3 separate regions of the Homo sapiens genome follow, and regions 1 and 3 are each linked to region 2. Evidence: promoter capture Hi-C in 16 types of primary human blood cells and fetal thymus (Javierre and others, 2016). All regions are on one chromosome and are shown on one strand. Each heading gives the region's core, a stretch centred on a gene start or on the middle of the fragment in contact. The rest is flanking DNA. Distances are from core to core; before and after follow the strand shown.

Region 1 (3,561 bases), core at 1,011-3,510, 79 kb before region 2:
TTACATCCATGGACACGCCATGCCCCACAGAGACAGCTGTGCAGGGTTCTTTAGGTTTGGGGTGCTCTGCTGGCAGTTGCCTTATAAATATATAGGATTAAAATGGGATGCCCTGGAGCTTAGCTAACCTTTACACCCCACTCTAAAAGGAACGGACTGCTAGTTTTGTCTGCTTTATAAAAGATGGATCTGTCATTGTTTTTAGAACTTTTGGAGAAAGATTTCTTGGGAGGAAGCTATCCTGAACGCTTAGAGACTTTTCTCATTTACTGGCACACCAGCTTTAGAGTCCTAGGTCTTCATCCTGGCTCAGCCACCCTCCAGCTGTGTGAACTTTGAGAAGTTGCTTGACTACACTGAGTCTCGTTGTCACTATGAGTGGAGGTTGCTACGTTGCTACTGTGTGGAGCACCTACCCCCAAGCACTCTTATAAGGTGATGGTGAAGATTAAATGAAATAATACGGCTCAAGGGGGAGGATCACTTGAAGCCAGGAGTTTGAGACTAGCCTGGGCAACAAAGCCAGACCTCATTTCTATGAAAATGTTTTTTGTTTTCTTTTGTTTTGCTTTTTGAGATGGAGTCTCGCTCTGTTGCCCAGGCTGGAGTGCAGTGGCATGATCTCAGCTCACTGCAAGCTCTGCCTCCTGGGTTCATGCCATTCTCCTGCGTCAGCCTCTGGAGTAGCTGGGACTACAGGCGCCCGCCACCACACCCAGCTAATTTTTTGCATTTTTAGTAGAAACGGGGTTTCACCATGTTAGCCAGGATGGTCTCGATATCCTCACCTTGTGATCCACCTGCCTCGGCCTCCCAAAGTGCTGGGATTACAGGCATGAGCCACCTGCCCGGCCCGAAAATGTTTTTTAAAAAATTAGCTGGACTTGATGGTTTATGCCTGTATTCCCAGCTACTCGGGAGGCTGAGGTGAGATCATTTGAGCCCAGGAGTTTGAGGCTGCAGTGAGCCATGATCACGCCACTGCACTCCAGCTCAGGCAACAGAGAGAGACCCTATCTCAAATCAATGAATAAGTAAGTAAATAAATAAATAAATGAAATAATGCACACAATTACTACACTAGTACATGATCAGGCACATGATAAATGCTCAATAAATGGTAGCCCCAATAAGCTTTGTAATGTTTTGGGAAAGGGTGTCCTTTGGACTCAGCCCAGTGACAGAAGCATTTGAAAAGACTGATTTGTATGATGGCTATTTCCTCCAGGTACAAACCTGTACCTCCAGGGACCCAGGGCATTGGCTCAGTGGGGCACCTTGTTCTATTTTCTCTTGTTTTGGGCAGCACTGATTGCCCTAGGGCTAATCAGGACTGCCACCCCAGACTCCATTGCCAAGAGTATCCCCCTCCCCAAGCTAGCCATGGGAAAGCCACTTGCATCCTAAGACTACTGGAAATTAAAGGGAATAAAAAGCACAATTTAGTCGCTCACTCTCCAGCTGATGGGAAATAGGTTTTTGCTATTTTGAACAGAGCTGTTAGGAACATTCCTTGTCCACATCCCCTGTTTTATATTGTTTTATATAGGCAAGAATTTCTTTTGGATGTAGAGTAGAATTGCTGAGCTGGGAGGAGTATGAATATTCAGCCTTATGAGATGGAGCCAAATTGTTTTCCAAAGTGGTTATACCAGTGTATACTCCCAGCAGCAGTTCTTAAGAGATCTCAGGATCTCTATCTTCTGGTGATGTCACAACATACAAAAAGAATGAATGCCAGCTATAAACAACAATAAGGATGAATCTTAGCAATATAATATTAAGTGAAAAAAAACAAGTTCCAGAAGGATGCATACAGCATCCTCTATATAGCTTGGAAAAGAAAATGTGGGCATGGTGGCTCATGCCTGTAATCCCAGCACTTTGGGAGGCCAAGGCAGGAGGATTGCTTTAGGCCAGGAATTCAAGACCAGCCTAGGCAACATAGCAAAACTCTGTCTCTACAAAAACTAGAAAAATTAACTGGGTGTGGTGGTGCAGGCTTGTAGTCCCAGCTACTCATGAGGCTGAGGTGGGAGGATCTCTTGAGTCTAGGTGATCAAGGTTACAGTGAGCCATTACTGCACCACTGCACTCAGAGACAGTAAGTAACTTGTCTAAGGTGGCCTCATTAGAAGTTAGCTGCGGCCAGGCGCAGTGGCTCACACCTGTAATCCCAGCACTTTGGAAGGCTGAGGCGGGCGGATCATGAGGTCAGGAGATCGAGACCATCCTGGCTAACACAGTGAAACCCCATCTCTACTGAAAATACAAAAAAAAATTAGCCGGGCATGGTGGCAGGCGCCTGTAGTCCCAGCTACTTGGGAGGCTGAGGCAGGAGAATGGCGTGAACCCGGGAGGCAGAGCTTGCAATGAGCCAAGATCGGGCCACTGCACTCCAGCCTGGGCAACACAGTGAGACTCCATCTCAAAAAAAAAAAAGAAGAAGTTAGCTGTGGTGGCTGGGTGCAGTGGCTCATGCCTATAATCCCAAAACTCAGGGAGGCCAAGGCAGGAGGATCACCTAAGATCAGGAATGTGAGACCAGCCAGGCCAACATGGTGAAACCCTGTCTTTACTAAAAATACAAACATTAGCCAGGTGTGGTGGTGGATACCTGTAATCCCAGCTACTCTGGAGGCTGAGGCAAGAGAATAGCTTGAACCCAAGAGGCAGACATTGCAGTGAGCTGAGACTGCACCACTGCACTCCAGCCTGGATGACAGAGCAAGACTCCATCTCAAAAAAAAAAAAAAAAAAAGATTCAAAAGCGTTAGAAACCAAATAAATGTAATGAAAACAATCAGATTTTCTGCTTAAAGACCAGCGAAGAGGACAAATGGGAGGGGGAAACTGGAGCTCTGCCCCTGTTGGTGGGAGTATAAACTGAACCAATTTTTCTGCAGGATAATTTGAAAATTTATATTAAAAACCCTAAAACTGTTGTACGTTATTTTCCTCCAGAAATTCTACTTCTATGAATTAAATCCAAAAATGCTTGCTCTAATCCACTAAAAATATACATATAAGAAAATTTATTTCTGGGGTGGCAATGATTAAGTTAATATACATCGAGCTATTAAAAATGATGATGCTAAGGATAGATTTACTGCCATAGAAATATGCCTAAAACATAGTGACAAAAGACTATATAATGATTCTACTTTTTAAAATGTGTATATGCATAAAAAAGTATAAAAAGCAACAAGGCAGAATGTTTTGAGTGGCAAAATTAAAGACTTTTCTTCATATTTTGTCTTCCAAATTATTAGAAAAAGAATATGATTTTCTTTATAATCAGGGAGAAGTATTATTTTCATTTATTTCTATTTAAATTTATTTTCTTTTCCTTATTTTTTCTCATCTATGTATCACATATAGTCTAGAAAGCTTGAATCCCTGCCTCTTGAGATAAATCAGCCCATTTCTTTCTCTATAAATTTGCCTTTTTTGGACATTTCAAATCAATGGAATTATACAATATGTGGTCTCGTGTCTGGCTTTTTTACTTAGCTAATGTTTTTGAGGTTGGTCCATGACATATTGTAGCAGGATGAGCTG
Region 2 (3,744 bases), core at 496-2,995:
ATTCTACAGCATTTATCTCTGTGCATATGTGCCTCCCTCTGTTAGACTAGAAGGGCAGGCCTAGCGCTTTCTCTCTTTCTAGTATCCAGGACAATACCTGGTAGATAACAGGAGCTCCACAAATGTTTAATAAATAAATAAAAGTTGACATACTCAGCATTTATATTTTAAGTTACCTTGTTTTCCTTTACAGAAAGTCTGAGAGGTAATTTCAGATGAAGAATTTCATTCTTTTTCAGGCTTTCATAGCCAGCAACAAAGACTCCTGGAAAAAGAAGCAGAGGTAGCTGTCACAAATTGTTAGAAAGATTGCAGACCATGCAATCCCCCGAAGTAAGGATACATTCCTTCACTGTGCAGCCTTGTATGGAGGAATTGAGTACCTGGTTGTGTCTTTTTCAGACAAGGTCTCGCTGTGTCAGCCAGGCTGGAGTGCAGTGGTCCGATCACAGCTCACTGCAGCCTCAACCTGCCAGGCTCAAGTGATCCTCCCACCACAGCCTTCAGAGTAGCTGGGATTATAGGCGTGAGCCACCATGCTCGGCTAATTTTTGTATTTTTTGTAGAGACAGGGTTTCCTTGCTTAGGTTAGTCTCAAATTCCTGGGATCAAGCAATCTGCCCGCTGCCTCAGCCTCCTGAAGTGCCCAGCCTGAAGACTTTTTTTGTTAGCCACGCTGGAATACAGTGTCGTGATCTCAGCTCACTGCAACCTCCACCTCCTGGGTTCAAGTGATTCTCCTGCCTCAGCCTCCCCAGTAGCTGCTGGTACACAGGTGTGCACCACCTCGTCCGGCTAATTTTTGTATTTTCAGTAGAGACGGGGTTTCACCATGTTGGCCAGACTGGTCTCGAACTCCTGACCTCAGGTGATCCGCCTGCCTCGGCCTCCCAAAGTGCTGGGATTACAGGCGTGAACCACTGCTCCCGGTCAGAGATCTTAATAAGAGGAATATTAGTGCTGATGGGGCATCAAATTGCTACAAGTGACTCTCAGGTGCCCAGAAGAGTGGGTTGGGTCCCTCTAGGCTTAGCTCCTGAAACCCAGCTCAGGAGTGAGATTCCCTCTCCTTCAGGGCTAGAAAGGTATACCACCTTTGTCATCAATCCATTCAAGGACTCGAGTGGCTCCTGACAGGTCGAATGCATAGAAATCCTGGTACCTGCACAAAAGGGACACAGAATCACACGATGCACAGCACTTCACAGCTCAAAGAACTCCAAGATGGCAGCCGCATGGTTCAGTGGCCCAAACTCTGGAGTCAGGCAGACGTGGGACTGAGTTTACTTCCCATTTTACTCCCTGTTTCTGGGACCAGGCCAGTCCCTTGATGTCCCTGAGCCTCGGTCCTCATGTGTGGACGTCCCAGGGTACCCAGATTTCCCAAGGTTGACGTGAGGAATCAATGAGATCATCTGTGTTCTGAGCTGAACTCAGAGGCTGGCGCAAACTAACTGGGCACTGCGTCTTCACAAGCGCGGCTCTTACTAGTAATCTCACAACGCGCGCACGCAGGAAGGAGCCATTTCCTAGAGATGGGGGCCTAGGCCCAGGCGGAGTCCTCCACGGTGGCGAGCCCCGAGGCCACAGCTGGCCCACTCTGCACCAGGATCCCCAACGTGCCTCCACCCACACCCATCCGCCCGCCAGGCAAGCTCCAGGCCCAGCTCCCATGTCCCAGCCCCGTACGATTTACAAGCGCAAGGATTCCACCAGCCAGTCGTCCCCAGGATCCATGGCAACGACCGCTTCCGGCGTCTCACTTCCGCCTGCGAGCCTTCGGGGGCCGCGCGGCTCTCGCGAGATGTGGGCAGGGCCTCCCGTTAGGGGCGGGGTTAACAGGCTGAGCTGCGGCCCGGCATGGGTGGGTTACGGGTTTTCTCCGCGAAAGCTCCGGGAAAAGTGACCTGAAATCGGGACTTTCCCGCTGTCAGCTCCAAGCAGGACCTGAGGACCAAATGATCGCCCGTTTTAGGGCCAGGTGTTTGCAGCCCAAGAGAGGGGCAATGAATGCTCCAAGGCCAGAAATAATACAGGACCGCCCGGTTAAATTCGAATTTCAGAAAAACGGTGAATAATTTCTTTCTTACGAGTATGTTCATGCAATATTTGGTACATTTTATTAGATAAAATTATTGTTTATCTGAAATTCGAATTTAACTGGGTGTCCAGTATTTTTATTTGCTAACGCTGGCAACCCTTCTGACGGCCAGAGAAGAGAGGAAGCGGCCGGCAGGGTCTGGATCCCAACTCGGCGCTCCCCTCCAAGTCCGGCGGGGGTATTGAGTAAAGCCCGGCAGTGTAGTGTCTGCAGCCCCCTTTTACTAGCGAGGAAACTAGTGACACTTGCCTGCGCCAGTAGGTGGCAGAGATGAGAGTAGAACCCCGCGCCTGGCACGAAGCCTGGCATGCAACAGGCGTTATTTGCTTGCTGAATGAATGGGTAGGAGGCCAGAGTCAGTGCCAGGCTGGTGCCATGGCATGGGGTATTCTGGACTTTTTGAGCCAGCCCCATCTCACTGAACACTCTGCCCTCCAGCCCCCTTTTCCTCCCATCCCCTAAAAGACGGGTGAAAGGAGAGGACCAGGCATTGTATGTAAAGAGCAAGGTTTTATTCACCAATTCAACAGGGAAGCAGGAAATACAGCAGGAACATAATCTGTGTCTGCATCAGCGATATTTCTGGTGACCCAGCCAGAAATCACAGTAATGGAGTAACAGAGATTTGAGCTCAGGATTTACATCCAGATGGGGCCATCAACAGGGTCCCATTCAGCACCTTCCCTGGGTGGGCACAATCTAAGCCACGCTGTTGTGTCTGCCCCATTATTGGTGTCATTTCTGCAGTATTTGTACCAGCAGCCTCCTGTACTGAAGAGAAACATACAGAAGAATTGAGCCAGGGAGGGGCTCCTGATAAAGATAGGGGCATCCTGCCATTCCTAAGTGCCAGATGTCTGCAGAGGTGGGCACCAGCAGGCTGTCAGCTGAGGCAGGCCCCAGAGCACCCTGAATTGCCTTGGAGGGGTCGGGGCAGTAGTTTTCTCAGAACACAGCCCCAACCACCCAGGGTGGTCATGACAGTCAAAGAAGATCGTGGAAGAAAATCCAAATACAGTGCTTGGTGCTGGGCTAGTGTCAGCGTCCTCACTCCCCCACCCCAGCTCTGCCCCAGACCTCACTCTGAAGCCCCAGACGTAGGCACTGCTGCTTCTGAGATTCTCTAGTTGGTCTGCATGTGTCAGAGCTTCAAAACCAAGGGCATTAGAGGTGACATTGTTTCCCTTCAGACTCAGCCAGCCCAAGCTCCTAGGCCTTACATCTGAGGTCCTCAGGGGCTGCTGGTTCTGTGCCTCAGGAAGTCAGGGATGTTGGTTGAGGCTGGGTTGGACCTTTTCTAGGGAATGCCTCTCCCTTCAAAATGCACACACTATATGCTAGGCACACTGGGGGATATGAAGGCGAGTCTACAACAGGTGCCGCCAGGGAGCTCACAGACTGATAAGAGCTCGCATCTACTAAGGGCTGTCTATGAGCCAGGCACCATGCTGAGCATTTGACATAAATGGTCTCATTTAATGGGAGATGGGCCTTATTATCTTCATTTTATGGGTGAAGAATATTGAGGCTTTAGAGAAGTTAAGGGACATTTCTAAGGTCATACAGCTACTAAGTAGCTAGGTTATGAGCCCAGCACGTTGTAGTCAAAACCCACATTCTACCACATCACACTGCCTTCTGCA
Region 3 (3,935 bases), core at 1,075-3,574, 120 kb after region 2:
TCTACAAATACTTATTGAGTACCTAATGGGGAATCCAGTGATGAATGAAATAGATAAGCCTCTTCCTTCATGAAACTTACATCCTAACATTCTTCTGCTAGATTATTGGGTCCCAAAGCATTTATATAATTATGAAGACTTCCTTTTTAAAATAAATTTTTCATGAGTCCTTATTCAGCAGTGGTGTGTCTAATGGCTGGTCCTTGAGCACACATATCTGGAGGTGAAGCTGGGTTCCCTTATGGGTTGGAAACCACCATTCTAGGTAATTTATGAAAGCATAAATCACTAGTCCAAAATTAGTCAATGGGTTAAAAGCTCTGTTTATATTTCCCCATGAATGGGAATTACATGAAGACATATATACGGATGCACACAGACAACATACATTCACCCAAGTTTTATGGAAGTCAGTTGTTATTTTGTTCTGTTTTTTTTTTGGTGGGATCTTAGCATTTAAAGTCTGTAGAAATTCTGTCTACTAGTCTACTAGTTCTGCCATAATTATATATAATCATACTGGTTTTTGTTTGTTTGTTTGTTTGTTTTTTGAGACAGAGTCCACTCTGTTGCTCAGGCTGGAGTACAATGGCGTGATCTCGGCTCACTGTAACCTCTGCCTCCCAGGTTCAAGCAATTCTCCTGCCCCAGCCTCCCAAGTAGCTGAGATTACAGGTGTACACCACCACGCCCAGCTAGTTTTTGTATTTTTAGTAGGGACAGGGTTTTGCCATGTTGGTCAGGCTGGTCTTGAACTCCTGACCTCAGGTGATCCACCTGCCTTGGCCTCCCAAAGTGCTGAGATTACAGGCATGAGTCCCAGCACCTGGCCACTGTTTTCTTTTTCTTTTTCTTTTTTTTTCCTAAGATAGGGTCTCGCTCTGTCACCTGGGCTGGAGTACAGTGGTGCAATCTTGGCTCACTGCAACCTCTGCCTCCCTGGTTCAAGCGATTCTCCGGTCTCAGCCTCCTAAGTAGCTGAGACTACAGACATCTGCCACCATACCTGGCTAATTTTTGTATTTTTGGTAGAGACAGGGTTTCACTGTGTTGGCCAGGCTAGTGTCGAACTCCTGACCTCAAGCGATCTGCCCACCTCAACCTCCCAAAGTACTGGGATTACAGTCATGAGCCACCGCATCCAGCTAATCATACTGGGTGTTGTTGTTGTTGTTGTTGTTGTTGTTCTGTTTTGTTTTTTTGAGACAGAGTCTCGCTCTGTTGCCCAGGCTGGAGTGCAGTGACGCGATCTCAGCTCACTGCAACCTCCACCTCCCGAATTCAAGAGATTCTCCTGCGTCGGCCTCCTGAGTAGCTGGGTTTGCAGGTGCACACCACCATGCCTGGTTAATTTTTGTATTTTTAGTAGAGATGAGGTTTTGCTATATTGGCCAGTCTGGTCTCAAACTGACCTCAAGTGATCTGCCCACCTCGGCCTCCCGAAGTGCTGGGATTACAGGCATGAGCCACTGCGCCCGGCCGAATCATATTGTTTTTATACCCTCAAATAATTCCAATAGGGTGATTCGGCATGCTGAGGCCCTTTCAAAACTAAGATGCTCCTTACCCACATCTAGTTGATATGTTTACTTAAATGTTTGGTAAAATTTTCTGGGCAAAGTAGTAGACTCTGTAATAAACAATATGAATTTATATTCATCTTTAAAAAATATTTCCAGATATTCCCTAGGTAGAAACTTATTCTGAGAGAGGGTATAGTTGTCAATCTGCCAGTCTTAGAGTTGTTCTTTACCCCCAAGGGGACTGTTCATATTGTTACATAATTCCACTATCTCACCTTTGAGTGAAATTTACTCTCAGCCTAGGCCACCAAACCAGTGATCCTGCCTTGCCTCTTGACTAGGCTGTTCTAGATCACTCAGTGAGCTTACCAGGTCTGGATCTATCTAGCTCGTTCAGATGCTTCAGGGTGAGCCTCTGACAAAGGCTCTGTAGGCCAGGCCATGGTTCCTGGGCTGGTGTTCATGGACATGGCTCTGGTCCCTGAGTGACTGCCCCCAGGCAAGGTAGGCAGCTGCCTGTGGTTTGCTCTTCTCAACTTTGGCTTGCTGCTTCCAACAGGTTATAGATACTGGTGTATGCTGAAACTTTTTATTTTGACTATACCTTTTATTTTAACTAAGTTATTCTGTTGATTTTCTAACTAGCATTTCCCTGGTGATCCATGTCAGATGTGCTTTAAGAATTTTACATTAATGATTTTTGGCTGGGTGCAGTGGCTCATGCCTGTAACCCCAGCACTTTGGGAGGCCAAGGTGGGTGGATCACATGAGGCTAGAAGTTTGAGACCATCTTGGCCAACATGGCGAAACCCCATCTCTATTAGAGATACAAAAATTAGCCGGGCATGGTGGCACACATCTGTAATCCCAGCTGCTCAGGAGGCTGAGGCACAAGAATCCCTTTAACCCGGGAGGTGGAGGTTGCAGTGAGCCAAGATCATGCCACTGCACTCCAGCCTGGGTGACAGAGCAAGACTCTGTTTCAAAACAAAACAAAACAAAACACCTGGTAGCTCACGCCTGTAATCTCAGCACTTTGGGCGGCCAAGGCCGGTGGAATACGAGGTCAGGAGATCAAGGCCACCCTGGCTAACATGGTGAAACCCTGTCTCTATTAAAAATACAGAAAAATTAGCTGGGTGTGGTGGTGCGTGCCTATAATCCCAGCTACTCGGGAGACTGGGTTGGAAGAGTCGCTTGAACCTGGGAGGCGGAGGTTGCAGTGAGCTGAGATCACGCCATTGCACTCCAGCCCAGGAGACAGTGCGAGAAAAAAAAAGAAAGAAAAGAATGTTATATTATTTTTAGAGTCTTTTGTAAGAAGCTCCTTAAATTTTTTGGCCTGCCTAGTTTCTTCTATTTTTTTTCCTTTTTGTATATTAAAAATATAATCAAAAAAATTTTTACATTTAAAAAAAAGAGGGGCTGGGCGCAGTTGCTCACGCCTGTAATCCCAGCACTTTGGGAGGCTGAGGTGGGTGGATCAGTTGAGGTCAGGAGTTTGAGACCTGCCTGGCCAACATGGCAAAACCCCGTCTCTACTAAAAATACAAAAATTAGACGGGCGTGGTGATGCATGTCTGTAGTCCCCACTACTTGGGAGGCTGAGCAGGAGAGTTGCTGGAACCCGGGAAGTGGAGGTTGCAGTGAGCCGAGATCACGCCACTGCATTCCAGACTGGGTGACAGGGCAAGACTCCGTCTCAAAAAAAAAAAAAAAGAAAAAAAAAAGAAAGGCATGGGGTCTCACTATGTTGGTCTTGAACTCCTAGGCTCAAGCGGTCATCCCACCTTGTGGGAAAATAATAACCACCAAAGTGCTAAAAATAATGAAGTTATGTAAATAATACAATTTGAAACATAGTTTGAATAATTTTAAAATGAAGATAAACAAAAGAGAAAATAATTTCGTCTGTTGAGATACTTTTTTTTTTTTTTTTTTTTTTTGAGATGGAGTCTAGCTCTGTCTCCCAGGCTGGAGTGCGGTGGCACGATCTCAGCTCACTGCACGCTCCGCCTCCCGGGTTTACGCCATTCCCCTGCTTCAGCCTCCCGAGTAGCTGGGACTATAGGCGCCCACCACCACGCCCGGCTAATTTTTTTGTATTTTTAGTAGAGACGGGGTTTCACCGTGTTAGCCAGGAGTCTCCAACTCGTGACCTGGTGATCCGCCCGCCTCGGCCTCCCAAAGTGCTGGGATTACAGGCGTGAGCCACCGTGCCCGGCCTAGATACTTTTAACATTTGGAATATTCTTGTAATGTAACTCCATTCTGGAGTATTTTTTCTAGTCTGTCCATTTGTCTTTCTTCTTTTAATTGCCTGCTCATCACCCTCACTCATTTTTCTAATGGGTTGCTTATATTTTACTTATTGCTTTGTAAGGGCTTTTTGTTTTTGTTTTTGTTTTAAGG

What was found. Contacts are between HindIII fragments. The CHiCAGO score rates a contact against its expected background, and 5 or more counts as called.
Region 1: a fragment that was not itself captured here is called in contact with the fragment with the promoter of WDR73 in region 2 in 2 of 17 cell types (neutrophils and total CD8 T cells); the score reaches 5.7 in neutrophils.
Region 3: a fragment that was not itself captured here is called in contact with the fragment with the promoter of WDR73 in region 2 in 5 of 17 cell types (neutrophils, total CD8 T cells, total B cells and 2 more); the score reaches 10.9 in neutrophils.

The regions. Positions count from the first base shown.
Region 1 is chr15:84,572,817-84,576,377 of GRCh38, forward strand. LINC00933 (long intergenic non-protein coding RNA 933) reads left to right here. Exons shown (of 4, transcript NR_038274.1): 3 at 206-435. Among named protein-coding and RNA genes, the nearest start is that of LINC00933, 3.9 kb to the left of the region's middle. The HindIII fragment of the contact is 2,256 bases long and covers 1,133-3,388 here.
Region 2 is chr15:84,652,538-84,656,281 of GRCh38, forward strand. WDR73 (WD repeat domain 73) reads right to left here and starts at 1,746. Exons shown (of 8, transcript NM_032856.5): 1 at 1,697-1,746; 2 at 1,095-1,162; 3 at 177-265. The coding sequence starts at 1,737. It overlaps NMB (neuromedin B), which reads right to left. Exons shown (of 3, transcript NM_021077.4): 3 at 2,595-2,872. The coding sequence ends at 2,837. RefSeq lists enhancers at 1,099-2,066, 1,493-1,732. The HindIII fragment of the contact is 10,475 bases long and covers 1-3,744 here.
Region 3 is chr15:84,774,249-84,778,183 of GRCh38, forward strand. It overlaps ZNF592 (zinc finger protein 592), which reads left to right. Exons shown (of 11, transcript NM_014630.3): 3 at 3,935. Among named protein-coding and RNA genes, the nearest start is that of ZNF592, 28 kb to the left of the region's middle. The HindIII fragment of the contact is 7,525 bases long and covers 1-3,935 here.